Linked DNA regions of Homo sapiens: regions 2, 3 and 4 are each linked to region 1. Evidence: promoter capture Hi-C in 16 types of primary human blood cells and fetal thymus (Javierre and others, 2016). All regions are on one chromosome and are shown on one strand. The core of a region is centred on a gene start or on the middle of the fragment in contact, and the rest is flanking DNA. Distances in the headings are between cores, read along the strand shown. Region 1 holds the start of KCNAB1-AS1 (KCNAB1 antisense RNA 1). Region 2 has its middle 87 kb from the start of KCNAB1. Region 3 overlaps KCNAB1 (potassium voltage-gated channel subfamily A regulatory beta subunit 1). Region 4 overlaps KCNAB1 (potassium voltage-gated channel subfamily A regulatory beta subunit 1).

What was found. Contacts are between HindIII fragments. The CHiCAGO score rates a contact against its expected background, and 5 or more counts as called.
Region 2: a fragment that was not itself captured here is called in contact with the fragment with the promoter of KCNAB1-AS1 in region 1 in 1 of 17 cell types (megakaryocytes); the score reaches 5.2 in megakaryocytes.
Region 3: a fragment that was not itself captured here is called in contact with the fragment with the promoter of KCNAB1-AS1 in region 1 in 1 of 17 cell types (M0 macrophages); the score reaches 5.1 in M0 macrophages.
Region 4: a contact is called between a fragment that was not itself captured here and the fragment with the promoter of KCNAB1-AS1 in region 1, in 6 of 17 cell types (endothelial precursors, M1 macrophages, megakaryocytes and 3 more). The highest score is 14.2, in endothelial precursors.

What each region holds. Positions count from the first base shown.
Region 1 is chr3:156,445,326-156,449,061 of GRCh38, reverse strand. KCNAB1-AS1 (KCNAB1 antisense RNA 1) reads left to right here and starts at 2,126. Exons shown (of 3, transcript NR_046618.2): 1 at 2,126-2,277; 2 at 2,966-3,028. The region is part of intron 2 of KCNAB1 (potassium voltage-gated channel subfamily A regulatory beta subunit 1); the gene reads right to left. The HindIII fragment of the contact is 8,289 bases long and covers 1-3,736 here.
Region 2 is chr3:156,031,423-156,035,158 of GRCh38, reverse strand. It overlaps the pseudogene VN2R1P. Among named protein-coding and RNA genes, the nearest start is that of KCNAB1, 87 kb to the left of the region's middle. The HindIII fragment of the contact is 767 bases long and covers 1,673-2,439 here.
Region 3 is chr3:156,130,172-156,133,907 of GRCh38, reverse strand. All of the region lies in intron 1 of KCNAB1 (potassium voltage-gated channel subfamily A regulatory beta subunit 1), which reads right to left. Among named protein-coding and RNA genes, the nearest start is that of KCNAB1, 11 kb to the right of the region's middle. The HindIII fragment of the contact is 4,522 bases long and covers 1-3,736 here.
Region 4 is chr3:156,172,446-156,176,181 of GRCh38, reverse strand. The region is part of intron 1 of KCNAB1 (potassium voltage-gated channel subfamily A regulatory beta subunit 1); the gene reads right to left. It also overlaps the pseudogene SNRNP40P1. Among named protein-coding and RNA genes, the nearest start is that of KCNAB1-AS2, 54 kb to the left of the region's middle. The HindIII fragment of the contact is 4,531 bases long and covers 1-3,736 here.

The sequences.
Region 1 (3,736 bases), core at 877-3,376:
ATTTTGTTCATGATGACTACCTCCCTGGCCCTTCGACACTTGCTACTCATTTGTTTTCTACCTACTTGTTTATAGAGTTTATATCTTTTACTAGAGAGTAAGCTGTCTGAGGGCTACACTTTTATTTCATTCGTCTTTGCATCTCCACAGCCCTAGAATAGAAGTGGGTTCTTAGTACATGGTCAGTAAGTGTTGGTTAAATTGAATTACATTGCCTTGTTGACTGTTATTAATCTTTAAAATTTTGGGATAATTTCCTACCAAACAAACATCTTTATTATGACTTATAGAAAAATGAATATTTCCTACCAAACAAACATCTTTATTATGACTTATAGAAAAATGAATAATGCTTATCAATAATCTTTAGTTCTTCTAGTCTCTAGATGATTGAAATGTTTCTCCCTATCCCTGGGTACCCACCCAGCTATGCCCCTTTGTGGAAAAAGGCCAAGGGAAAGTCTTTCTCCTTGGCTGAAATGCCTCCAGCAAGCAGATGGGTAAGTGGCCCAGTGTAGGTGGGGTCCACTTTCTACTCCTGAGGAGGAGTTGCCTCTCACAGACAGGACACATCCCCTCCTGCTGGAGAGGAACGGGGCAACAGCCTTCTAGACAGAAGAACTCTGTTTCTATGATTTTATTTTCCACTGTGCTCCACTCCAGAAGAACTAAGGTGACTTGTTAGTTAATATGATTCTCAAAAACCCTCTGTGACAGTTTTCTTAACCATTTTTCTCCCTCTAATGAGAACATGCTTTCCTGAGACCTAGAATGGCATACAATTATTTCACTGTGTAATCTCAAATTAGTGGGATGTTATTTACAAGATGATTTTACTAAACTGACAATTGTTATTTCTAACCTTTTAAAAGAAGGGAGAGTATAAAGATAACTCTTTGAACTATTTTGTGTCTTCTGATTAAACCCCTTTATGGACCAAGGAATATTTGCTTTGAAAACCTGTGTTAGGTTCCTTGGAGTAAATCTACCATAGCACAGAAAAATGATGGATGAAAGGTAAAAAGAAGAAAACTGCCCACCACACACATCTATCTTGGTTACCTCATTATCGTTTGGTGATTATCAGGGTAATTACTTCTTGCGTACTCATTCAAAAAACATGTTTACCATTTAAATGACTGCCTTGCTTGGAGTATAAAGGATATTTAGACATTTAGATGAGATCATTTTAATATCTTACATCACCATAGTGCAATTATCAAAACCAGGGAATTAACATGGGTACAGTACTAATACAATAGATCTTTTTGGAATTTCATTGTCTTTTTTTCTCTTCCAGGATCTTAAGCAGCATCCAACATTGCATTTAATTGTATGTTTTCTTAATCCACTCCAATATGTGACACTTCCTCAGTCTTTCCCTGTCTTTCATGATGTAGACACTTTTAAAAGTACTCATCAAGTATTCTGTAGAATGTCCCTTAATTTGGGTCTAAATCATCTTAAGGTTATAAAATTCTATAGTGCAGGTTGGTCTCCCTATGGTTTGAATATATTATTATAGCTATCAAGAAGAGAATATGTAAATGCAATTATAATATTAATATTTATTATGCCACAGTTAACATTTCCTCACTTTTTCATTCAACAAGTATTTATTGAGTCTACCGTGTGCCAGGTGTTGTACTTAGTTTATTGGGATGCAACAGTGAACAAAACTGGTAATTATTTCTCCCATCGTGAAACAGATATATGGGTAAAGAAAAAGGAATAACAAAAATAAGTTAAATATATAGTGTTTATAAATGTTAATTTTACAAATAAATAAAATGTAAAATAAAATACATAATGTTGACTGATGAATGTTAGAGAATCAATTTTATAAAGCAGGGATAGAGTATATGAAATGTCTAGGAATCAGTATTGAAATTTTAGATAGGGTGGCCAGATAAGATTCACTAAGAAAGGAGCTTTCAAGAAAAGACCTAAAGAAAGTGAAGGGGCTCACCAGGCGCTTATCTGGAGGGAGAGTGTTCCAGTTGCAGGGAGCAGTGAGGTAGGGGCTTGCTCAACATGAGCAAGGACAAGGAGGAAGCCAGTGTGGCCAGAGAAGAGAAGGTGAGGTTCATGGGGGCCAGATCATGTCATGTCAATCATAGGAAGGACCTAGGAAAGGCTAGTGAATAATTTTGAATACAGAAGTGACACAATCTGACTTTCTTTTAAAAGGAACACTCTGCTATTGTGCTAAGGATAGACTGCAGAGGCGAGGCTGAAACATGGGGGACCAGTTAGGAGGCTGTTCCCATAATCCAGGTGAGACATGACAGTGGTTTGGTCCAAGGTGGTGGTAGTGAGGATGGCGAGGAGTGGTTGAATTTTGGATAAATTTTGAAGGGGAAGCAATAGTATTTACTGGTGTAAAAGGATGTGTAGGGTGTGAGAGAAGGTGAAACCTCTAGGAGAACACCAAGGTCAGAGTATGGGGAGAATGGAGAGCCAATTCAACACATTTCAATATAGATTTAATGATTTTAAGTTTGGTAAACAGAGCACATGTGAACTGCAGCTTAATATAGTCAAGACTGACCAAATGTAGTCATAATTGAGAGACATTTCATCTATTTTGAGGTGTTAATCTGTTACGTCACTAAAGAATTTAAGATAAGAGGTTCAAACCCTAGGTCACATTGAAATTAAGCAATACACCAGGTAAAATTAACATGTTCAATGTCTCAGTTGTATAGTATAACCCCCAAAGAGGAGTGGAACTGGAGGTGGGAGCATCCCTCTAAATTGCGTATCCAGCAAGAAATAGGTGTAAGCCCAAAACTAGAGTTGATGTGGAGGAGGGAGCCCTAAGCTGTTGGCCACCACCTGAGATCCTTAAGCTCCAGGTCATTACCCTGGTGAGCATGTTCTCCTTTGAGCTATGGGCTGAGCCTTCCACTGAAAATCTAAACCTTCCCCATGCCTTTATGTCCAAATTCTACTTATTTTTCAGGACCCAGAACTCCAGCTTCAGAGTCCAGTGCTGCTAAGCCATAGTTTCTTAGCACTTCCCCTGGTGAGTTAAAGTATGTCTTGCTACATCATTAGAATTTTTTAGGTTCTCTTGCATTAACTCTGTGACTCTGAGAAACCTCCAATCTCTTGATTTCTTGTTTCCTTATGCACAAAATTAGGAACCTTGAGCTTCCTTCATCTCTATTATTTCATGATTCTATGGTTTCTTTGAAAGGAGAAGAAGTCATTCCATTTACTCTTCTCCTACCATTTTGAACTAACTGCTATTACCATATTGACCACACTATATTGTAACCGCATAGTTTATTTTTGGCTGTGACTTCCTCATTAGACTGCAACTATCCTGAGATCAGGGACTAAGTTTAAGTTTAATTTAAATTTTAAATTTTAGCCATTGCACTGGAGCCTGGCACAGGGTAAGTGAGTAATAATTGCTTGTTCAATCAGTAAGCATTCTCACCCTTACTAAGAAAGTGTCTCTAACCAGAGAGCATTTGTGGAACGTTGGTTGTTTTCCTCACTATCTTCAACAAGAGGTTTTTAACCACAACTGCGCATTTGAATATCCTGGGGGGATATAAATGGTATTGCTGACCTGATTCCTCACCACACCCCAGTGAAATCAGAATTTCTGGGAGTGGAATCCTGGCATCAGTATTTTTAAAAGATCCTCAGATAACTCTAATTGCAGTCAGGGTTGAGAACCACAGTTTATATTCTTCTCATACCGGTAGCATCTCATCCTTTT
Region 2 (3,736 bases), core at 807-3,306, 410 kb after region 1:
ATTGATCTCTTTAATGTTCTTTGAAAGATGCAGGAAAGATTGCAATTCCTGTTTAATCACTTTTAACTGCTGTACTGGACTTCCCTGGATGTAACTCTATGCAGAGACTGGGCTGTGTAGGGTCCAAGGAGTTGTTCAGGTTACATAGTTCTTGTTTTCCATTTTGGGAAAATGATACATTCTCAATTTTTTTTTTTTTTTCCCGAGACGGAGTCTCGCTCTGTCGCTCAAGCTGGAGTGCAGTGGCGCCATCTCAGCTCAATGCAAGCTCCGCCTCTCGAGTTCACACCATTCTTCTGCCTCAGCCTCCCGAGTAGCTGGGACACAGGCGCCTGCCACCGCGCCCGGTAATTTTTTGTATTTTTTTAGTAGAGAACGGGGTTTCACCGTGTTAGCCAGGATGGTCTCAATCTCCTGACCTCGTGTCCGCCCTCCTCGGCCTCCTAAAGTGCTGGGATTACAGGCGTGAGCCACTGCGCCTGGCCCTCAAAATTCTTTTATAAAGAATTGCTTTGGGAGGCCGAGGCGGGTGGATCATGAGGTCAGGAGATCGAGACCATCCTGGCTAACAAGGTGAAACCCCGTCTCTACTAAAAATACAAAAAAAATTAGCCGGGCGCGGTGGCGGGCGCCTGTAGTCCCAGCTACTCGGGAGGCTGAGGCAGGAGAATGGCGTGAACCCGGGAAGCGGAGCTTGCAGTGAGCCGAGATTGCGCCACTGCAGTCCGCAGTCCCGCCTGGGCGACAGAGCGAGACTCCGTCTCAAAAAAAAAAAAAAAAAGAAAAGAATTGCTATTGAGGGCCATTTGACAAAAGACAAGTACACTTTGTGTTATCTTTAACAGAAGGTAGAGATAAAAATAAACCTGCTCCAACATGTTTCACAAGACCGAGCACACTAAACCCAATTAAAATTCTGGTCATAAAGAGCAGCAATTTGGCAGGCCATAGTGAAGAATTCATAGAGCAGTAGTTACAGAAATCATATGTCTTACAAACTTTGAGTACTTATGACCTTAAGCCAATTGCCTTTAGAGATGAAATTTTAGATCTTATAACTCCAAATTAGAGCTAATTCAATAAAACATAGTACTATAAGTCCCCTGTCTTCCAATTATGAATATAACTAGCATTTAATTTATTTCAGAAACAAATAATTTTAAATATTTTTTATGAATCCTACTCATATTTCACATTTCATATATTTTATTTTGCATTTTCCTCTATTAACTTCAAGGTTGTAGGTATTTTCCCAACTGTAGCAGCTTTAGAACTGAAACACAATACTATGTTTTTTTCACAGTGCACAAAACATCCAATAATTTGATGGATTTTAATTATTTTTGTTATAAGTTATTCATACCTATTTATAAAGAAGGCTCCTTAGGCCTTCTTTGCAAAAACATGTTTGATCTAATAGCATCCTCATATCAATGAAGAAATTACCATCTCAACCTGGTTTCCGTGACACGTGTCCATCAGCACATGGGATGGAGTCAAAGCAGCATATTGGTTCCCTCTGAACGAATCCCCTTCCGAGTCCCAGGAGGACACACATCAGTACACACTGAATGGGGAAGCTAGCAAAGACAAACATGATGTATTAACAAAGCCCTTTGTCTCTAGTACTCATGAGGCTGAGAAAGTTTCCATTTGAATTTCCATGGAAGCTTTGCGATTTCCTGGGAAACCCAGGATGCCTGAGTGAAGATAATGAACAAAGAAAATAACAACATGGAGAACGTAGAGAAGAATTTTGCTAAAGGAGAGTCTCGGTGTTAAGTCTAGAAATGCAAAGCTAATTCTAAGCCTCTTCTTTCTAACCTTGGGGATCCAGACCAGGCTCCATGCCTACAGGACTCTGGGGATGAGATCATTTGACAGGTCTGTTCCTGCTTGTGAAGGACCTATGATTCCAAGAATCATCTTGAAAGCCTAAAAAATATTTTCCCTCTGCAAGGTCATCCCAAAGTAGTCTTAAAATCAAAGCTGTGTCATGAAGGGTCAGTAGAAAAGAACAGTGAAAGATCTGATTTATCAGAAAAATGGGGAGGGCAAAAGGAAAAGCAGACAAGGCATAGCATTGAAATATTTTCTTGCTAAACGAATTTCAAAATCTCAGTAGTAAACACAGGCCTCCTTTTACATTCTACATGGATGTGTACCTTGAAACCCAGAATAAATGCAAGGTTTGTAAATAGTTTGTTTCTTAATCCATTAGGGAGTTTCCTGTTTAAGAAACAAAATGCTTTTCCATTAAGCAAAGAATCATTTTGGAAGATGCATGATTACACTTATATTTATTTTAGAAATCAGAATTTTCATATGTTGAGTTTTCCAGAGTAAATCTGAATTAAATAACATAGAAAATATTACCAATCTCTGAGCTAGGTTATGGTACATAACATTACAGAAGTATGTATACACAATAGATAAGCTTCTTATATGTTTTATACATATGTATCTGTAAAATCATATTTTAAATGCACCTTAAGGAGTAGCTATTACAGGAAGGAGTGATAGCAAGGCATTCTCAAATTCTGAAAGATGAACAATAAAATCATCACAGAATGAACTAGAATTCCTTGCTCTGATCCAGTCTTCTGGAAAGAACTCTCGATATTACCTTATGATTACTATTATCATTTTTTTTTCCTCTGTTGCCCAGGCTGGAGTGCAGTGGCACCATCTCGGCTCACTGCAAGCTCCGCCTCCCGGGTTCATGCCATTCTCCTGCCTCAGCCTCCCGAGTAGCTGGGACTACAGGTGCCCACCACCACACCCAGCTAATTTTTTGTATTTTTAGTAGAAACGGGGTTTCACCGTGTTAGCCAAGATGGTCTCGAATTTCTGACCTTGTGATCCACCTGCCTCGGCCTCCCAAAGTGCTGGGATTACAGGCGCGAGCCACGGCACCTGGCCCATTAGTATCATTAACAATGAGCTGATACCTTTTTGTTCCATTTCTCAGTATTCCTTCCCTTCTCAACCTCTGTGATCTAGCTGCCAACTCACTCACCTCACTAAAACTCTTCTTGCCATGTCTGAGAGATTTTCCTCTGGCCACATTTTCCTTCAGCTTTCTTCAATACTTGACACTTTTGATCAGCCCCTCTTTGAAACGCAAGCTACCTTGGCTTCCCTTGGGTCCTGGGTTTGGTCCTTGGTCCTCTGGTTTTCTCTCTTACTGTAAAGCAGGTCCTTCATTCTCTTGTCTTCAACCAGTATCTCTATAGAAGTACTCCCAAATTTTGATCTCTAACACCAACCTTTCCCACCTGATCTCTATTTAATTCCATATTCTAAACTTCCCATATGTTCCTACATTAAGATTCCACCATCACCTCAAGTTCAACACGTACAAAACTATCCCATAAACCCTATTCCTCATTTCTGTCATCAACACCACCATTCCTATCCATCATCTCCAACCTGATATTACTTGCCTGTATGGACCCTCTCTTCCACTCAAGTCCACCTTCTCACCAACCACCAGACTCAGTTTACCATTATGACTTAAATCATTATTTGTATTGTCCTCTAATTGTTTCATGTAACACTTCCAGGTCCAATCCGTCAGCAGATTTGATGTCTTCTACCTATAAGATATCCATAAGATATCCAGAATCTAATGACTTTTTGCCACCTCCATCACATCTATCCTGGGCCAAGCTACCTTCATTATTTTGGATGATTTTATGGTCTTTTAACAGTCTCCTTGGTTCTGTTCTTGCCC
Region 3 (3,736 bases), core at 595-3,094, 310 kb after region 1:
AAGTCAACGAATTTGTTCTGAAGCTGCCGATTACATGTTTCTTTCCCTCAGCCATTTCTTACCTGCTTCCTCATTGGTTCGCATTCCCACAAACCCCCATGCATTCTTGTGTAAGTCTAGTTGAAATGGTGCATCTTAAGTGTATTTTTTCCTGATGCTTCTCTTCCCTGTCTCCCTGCCTCCCGGCATAACTAATCACCCTTTTACCTGAATTTTATAGCATTTCCTTCACACTTCTAATATCACACCAAAAAAACTTGACTGTAGTGTTGTCTTCCCTGAACAGACTCCAGGATCATTCAGGGCAAGAAGCCCTGACTCTGCATCCCTGTATCCTCAGAACTGGAACATGGTAGATGCTCAAACTTCCTTAATAAATTCTGTTTAATTTTCTAGTTTGATTGTTAGAAACTATTTCAATGTTACATATATGGTAATAAAAGAATGTCCTTAAATGTAAGTATATTTTTTCCTTTTTAAAAAACTAATTCTGAATGTTAACCTCATTGAAAATTCATTTAACTGAAAATACTTTTAAAACACATTCAGTACTGCTTTTGGATAAATGACCATCTGGAAAGTAAAATATTGCAAACAGATTTAAGCATTTAATATTTTGTTCAACAGCAACTGGTGTTTGGATAGTCACATCGTTCAAATTACTAGGCTTGAGACAGAAAGAGCTGATCTTTCTAACACATCCCACTTGTGGAATTGTTTATGCTGACTCTCACCTCCTAAATCCCAGAGGTAATTAAATAATTCAACAGCCCTTTGGACAGCTTGTTTCATACTTAATGTCCATTGCTGTAATCAAATTAAATATGAAGACTAAGCTACGAAATGTACCTTAGGCTTTGATTTTTTAAGGAAATATTTCAAATTGGAGATATTTGTAATAAAAAGTCTCTTGTATACAAACCATATTTTCTTAACCTATTATTCTCCAAATTCCTCATTAATTCTGCACAAAAATGTATATATACCTTGACTGAGGATAGTGACTCAGAGAAGAATGCCAGAATATCATTGAGGATATGCAATTTTATTTAACAACATTACATTCAAAACCACACTGTCTCCTGCTTCTGGGAGCAAAGTGATTATCTTGTCTGTTGTTATGAATCCTGGAGGTACATTATAGAAAAACATGTGTAATGATTACACTGTTTAAATGAACACAATGTTGTAGAAGCTCCCCTTAAAAACACACACCTTATCTATTCTGAAATAACAGACTGAATTAGTGAGCTCTCCTGGCTCTCCACAAGTGCTCCCTGACCCTTGTTTCCATGTGCCTGATCCTGCCTCCTGAGACATCAGCCCATGTCTGTGGCACCAGAGTCTGTGGCTGTTACCATGGAAAGGGATGGCCTTGCAGCAACTCCATCTCACAATGGAATGGGGGAGGAATAACACATGAGCTGCCAAGAGCCTCATCCAGCCGTAAGTGAGTCTCAAGGCAATGAGAAACACTCTGACAGGTTCAAAATGAGAGCTGATGCTCATAGACTGACATAAGGAAGGCTGCTTACTTTATCAGTGTTCCACTGCCAGGTGGATATCAGATGACCATCTACAGGTCTCTGAAGTGTCCTCAGCCTTCTCAGTGAAACAGGAAAGTTGAGATCCAAACAAAGAAGCCAGAAGAGATTGACCCACCATGTGGCTCAGGAAAGGTCAGGTCAAGGGGTCCAGTTTGAACAAGGGGAATAACATTGAAAGTAAAGGAATACCTTGGTCTCTCCATGTTATGGAAAATAGCCAAACTCTACCTTAGAAGCTCCCTAACCCTGTTTCAAGCACAGCTCTGTGGCAGAAACAGACCTGGGATTCACCATGCCCACTTCTCTTCCTTCTAAGGCATACATTTATAACTACAATTCCCAGCCTTCTTTGCAGTTGAATGTGGTCATGTGGCTGAATTCCAGTCAATGTTGCCTCTGCCTGCAGATACCACTTACAGGTCTGGCCCACAAAATGGGGCCTCCACCTGCTCCTCCCATACTCCTCTCTTGATCCATGTCAATGCTCAGCTATGGCCCAGCTTAGAAAACAAAAGATGAAGATGACAGAATTTTCATCAGCCCAAGTCCCACCTGACTGGACCCTTCCCACCCCTGGTCGGACTTGCATAAGTAAGAAACAAACTTTCTCTTTTTTGAAACAAGGTCTCACTGTGCTGTCCAGGCTGGTCTCAAACTCCTGGTCTCAAGTAATCCTCCCACATCTGCTTCCTGAGTAGCTAGGACTACCATTGTCAGCCACCACTGTACTCAGCTTGAAATAAACTTTCTGATTTCAAGGTATTAAGGTTTCAGGATTTTGCAGCTAGGGTTACCTTTAATAAAAACAATGCACTTTATTTTGTAAAAGGCATTCACCTACAGCCTATTCACAATCAGCATTTGGGAGCCGTTCCTGGATTGGGAACCAGAGCCAGATATCTGGCGGGAAGCCTAGTTTAATTTTTTGGAGACTGAAAAAATATTTGGCAAGTTTCTTTTTGAAATTAGGTCACAATGTGTGTACCAAAAATGCACAAAAAGCTCCTAATTTATTTTGCCATGGAATGGAGATTTTTCTCTAAAACTGACATCTGACGACATTTCACATACCTGGGGAGGCTGTTGGGGAAAGCTGTTGTTTCAACTGCCATCTCCAAAGAAATATGAGTAAGTGCTCCTCAAAACCGTGTTGTTTCCTCCTCCCATGCAGCAAAAACACACAATACAATGGTAAAAATCCCTGGCAGGACATTAGCACATGCCATTCAGTGACAACCACAGTCTACAATTTGAAAGACCTGGGCAGCTATTGCTGTCTAGCTCTCAGAGCTAGGATGAGAAGGAGATGGCCAAAGCCTGACTTAAACTCAAATTCTGAAATTGAATTAAATTTATCTAATAAGGGATGTCACTTGGGTGCCTCCTCAGGCCTCTGCACTTACACAGCTCTTTCGATGGAAACAGTTTCTGTGGGAGAAAAGCCTGAGGAAACATAAAAATCCATAGTTCATCCTATGACACAACCCTTTGCTATCCACCTAAGTGACTTCCCAACATTCCAGCCTCCCAGCCTTTTGATAGACAGGTGCAGGACAAGAAGCAAAGACTTCAAATGGGAGGGGAAGACATGACTGCCACATCCCGAGTTACAGAACCTTATAGTGTGGTGGAAAGTGAAGGTGAAAAGTGAAATTACTAAAATGACATCTTTGTAGTGATCAATAATCAACCCAAACTAGGGCAGGGAGCCATTCTGTTGAGTTGAGATGTGCATCTGCAGTCTGCAGCCTGAGTCTCCAGATTCAAGTACTGGCTTTATCACATGCTTAACTGGCTAACATTGGGCAGGATCATTTTTAAGGCTCAATTTCCTTCCACAAAGTGAAGATCATAAAAATAGGCATCACATGCACATGGATCATTGGGAAGGAATCAATGGAATATCTAAGGAATGTGCTAGCTATATAATAAATATTCAATAAACAGTTGTTGATATTAGGAAAAGAAGGCAGATGTCATAGACTTTGGTCAGCTCACCCAGGAAGGCTTGTTCAAGGTCAAGGAATGAAGGAATGAAGGCTACATCTACACCTATTTTTACTAGAAAAACAGATTGGGGTAACCATGCTCTTAAGCCATGTTCTAAGCTGACGTAGAGCCCATGTCCAGTGCAGAAGGTAATAAAAATAATAGCGAACACATAGATAGTGGTTTATAACATACAGAGC
Region 4 (3,736 bases), core at 811-3,310, 270 kb after region 1:
TTCTTATCTCTTGTCCAATGCAATGGACAATACAGTTCGTGTCTGGGATGTCTGGCCATTTGCCCCCAAAGAGAGGTGTGTAAACATAGTTCAAGGAAATGTGCACAACTTTGAAAAGAACCTTCTAAGATGTTCTTGGTCACCTGATGGAAGCAAAATAGCACCTGGCACAGCCGACAGGTTTGTGTATGTGTGGGATACCACAAGCAGGAGAATACTGTATGAGCTGCCCGGCCATGCTGGCTCCATCAATGAAGTTGCTTTCCACCCTGACTAGCCCTTCATTATCTCAGCATCGAGTGACAAGAGACTGTTGGGATATGGAATGGAAGACTCCAAGGCTACTTGTCTTTGAGACCTCAGACTGCATAAGTGACGTCAAATATTTATTGCCCAGGCTAGCACCCTCCCTTCAGATGACGATTACTGGCAAGAAACAGAGGAGGTGGTGGCCATATTCCAAAAACCACTGCTATCCCATTTCACCAGGATGACTAAGGCAAGCTCCCCGTGGCCTCTAAAATCCACCTGCCTGATTTCAGGAACTGTTTTGTTTTGTTTTTTGAGACAGAGTCTCGCTCTATCACCCAGGCTGGAGTGCAGTGGCGCATCTCGGCTCACTGCAAGCTCCGCCTCCCGGGTTCACGCCATTCTCCTGCCTCAGCCTCCGAGTAGCTGGGACTACAGGCACCTGCCAGCACACTCGGCTAATTTTTTGTATTTTCAGTAGAGACAGGGTTTCACTGTGTTAGCCAGGATGGTCTCGATCTCCTGACCTTGTGATCCACCCGCCTCGGCCTCCCAAAGTGCTGGGATTACAGGCATGAGCCACCGTGCCCGGCCTTCAGGGACGTTGTATTTTATTTTTTCTTTTTCTTTTTTCCTGTTTTCTAATGCCTGCCCAATGTGACAAATTTGCTGGTTGGGATTTTTTTTTTATTTAGTAACTGGCTTGTAGGATATTTTCTTTCTGTATTTCTCTAAGTGATTTTGTATTAAAAACATTTGTATTAAAAGCCTTAAAAAATAAAAAGCAAACAAACCCAAAGCACCTCTGTTTTCTGTTGATGACAGTCCAGAGGGGTAAAAATCCAAACTCACTGCAACAGATCAGAAGCCTCATGAGCTGACAATTTGGCTGAGACCACTCTAAGCCCTGTGAGGTTCTCCACCAAATAGTTGAGTAGGTAAATAAATAAATATTGTGGCAGCCAGAGAAACACCATGTTTCCCTGAAGAATTCCACTTGTAGACTTGAGGAAGAGTTCAACAACTAGCATCTGGTAAAGTTAGCTAGAAGCTGCCATATCTTCTAAAAGTGAAAGCTCACTGGCAGATGCACCCTCATTGGCAGCCCAAGCCCAGTCTTCCTGGTACCTTTTTAGACCCCTGCGTTGGTGGCTCCATGCCTCCTGATGGGAGGCTGAGCTGCTATGAGAATAAGAGGGCCTGTGGAAGCGACCACATTGGCTAAATATCAGCCCCTCCAGCTCTTCTCGACCTCGGGCACACTGATGTATGGGATAACTAACCAGCTTTAAAGAAAAGACCTAAAAAAGGACTTGGTAGGTATGTGGGTCCCTGATTTCCCATTGATACTTTGACTACAGGCTGGAACAGTCAGGGTGTCAGGGAAGGGCTCACCCATTCCTTAATGAGTAAAGAAGCATGGCATTCTCTGCTGGGAGAATTTTATTTTGCTGAATACTGTAGATCCTGCTAACTACCTACCCTTCTGATGGATGTTCACACAGCTAAAGAGCTCCTCCTGCTGAATTCTCATCAAGAAACTGGCTGCAGAAAGCAGCTCCTCCTTATAAGCTCTGCATGTAGCCCTCTGTCAGCTACATAATGTTTCTAATTCCTACCCAAGAACAAACCACTAAAAATTAATTATTGCTTGAAGGGAACAAAGAGAGAAAATACCAAGTATTTAATTCCTAAAATTATTTTGAGTAAAACTGGAGATAAGAAGGCTAGCCTTGAGCAATATCTTTGTCCCCAAATGTAGAATGTATTAGAGTTCTCTAGAGAACCAGAACTAATAGGAGGTAAACATAAAGAGATCATTACAAGGAATTTGTTCATATGATTATAGAGGCTTAAAAGTCCCATAATCGGTAGTCTGCAAGCTGGAGACTCAGGAAAGTTGGTGGTGTTGTTCCAGTACGAGTCTGAAGGCCTGAGGACCAGGAGAGCCAATGGTATATGTCACTGTCTGAGGGCAGAAGGCCAACGTCCCAGCTCAATCAATTGAATCAATTGGGCAAAGAGAGTGAATTCTGCCTTCCTCCATCTTTTGTTCTATTCAGGTCCTCAACTGATTGGATGATGGCCACTCACATCAGGAAGGGCAATCTGCTTCACACAGTCCTCTGGTACAAATGCTGATCTCATTGGAAACACCCTTACAGACACACCCAGAAATAACATTGAAACAAACATCTGGGCACCCTGTGGCCCTGTCAAGTTGACATATAAAATTAACCATCGCATACAATTTGTTGCATTTTTTTGTTACATAGAGTGTTAATAATACTGGATAAGAACTTAGAATAAATGCTGTCATTTAAAGATGGGGAAACTGAGGTCCCCAGAGAGGTTAAGGGGCTTGACTGAGACTCCCACTGACAATTGGATAGACCTGGAAGTAAAACCCAGATGAACTATGCTATTTTCTTTCCTACTGACCACTGGACAGTAATTGCTCTTATTACCTGGATGATTCATAACCCATTTCCAGTGTGTTTAACATTTATAACTAAGTAGTTAAAACTAGGAAGAGTTTCACTTACAGATGGTGATTTTTTGTGTGTTTTTTTAGACCCTCTTCTTCCCATTGTCTTATTACACCCTCACTCCCTCATCTCGGAAACACCCTGGTTAACTCACTGGCCATCTTGATAATGGTTCTGTTGCCCTGAGAGTGAAATCAGGGCTGAGCTTCTTAAGAAGAAAAGTGCTGAGTCAATTTCTACCCAATTTTGTGTCAGGGCCTTGTGACCAGGGTCCCTGCCCCTCTTAGACAGCAACACTGCCTGTTGACCGCAGTGACTTGAGGCATCCGACATTCAGATCTTCTTCCAGGCTTTTCTTTCTCTCCAGAGGAGAAGCCTTTTCTAAACACTTGCCAGATGCTTTCAATGAGCCTTACATGTCTTTCCCTAGAAGCAAAATGTTTAAGGTCCACAAGTGAATGTAATACCCACACTAGCTTCTGAAAGAAACTGCCAGATGACAGAAGGACCTTTACATCCAGAGGTGTTAGCAAAGTTGTGTGGGGCCACATGGGTAGATTGGAACTGCTCTAGCTTAAAAGGCATTAGATGCCCTGGGCTCTCTCCATGGCTAGCAAAACCCAGCTCAGAGAGTATTCTCTGCCTGCAATATTCCCCTGGGACTTTCCAGGACCTATCTCAGTCCTTTAGCCTACGGTTTTATCCCCTTGTCTTGTCTACTCTGTGACTTCATGCTGACTACCTCCAATTATCTAGAAAGGCCCCTATCTACTCTCAGTGGCCACTTGCCACTAACCACTGACCTGGGAATAAGTAACCAATCATGTCACCATCCTCATTCCCTTTTTTAAAATGCCGTTTGATAGCCGCATGTGGTGGCTCGCGCCTGTAATCCCAGCATTTTGGAAGGCCGAGGAGGGTGGATTGCTTAAGGTCAGGAGTTTGAGACCAGCCTGGCCAACATGGCGAAACCCTGTCTCCAAAAAAAGTACAAAAAT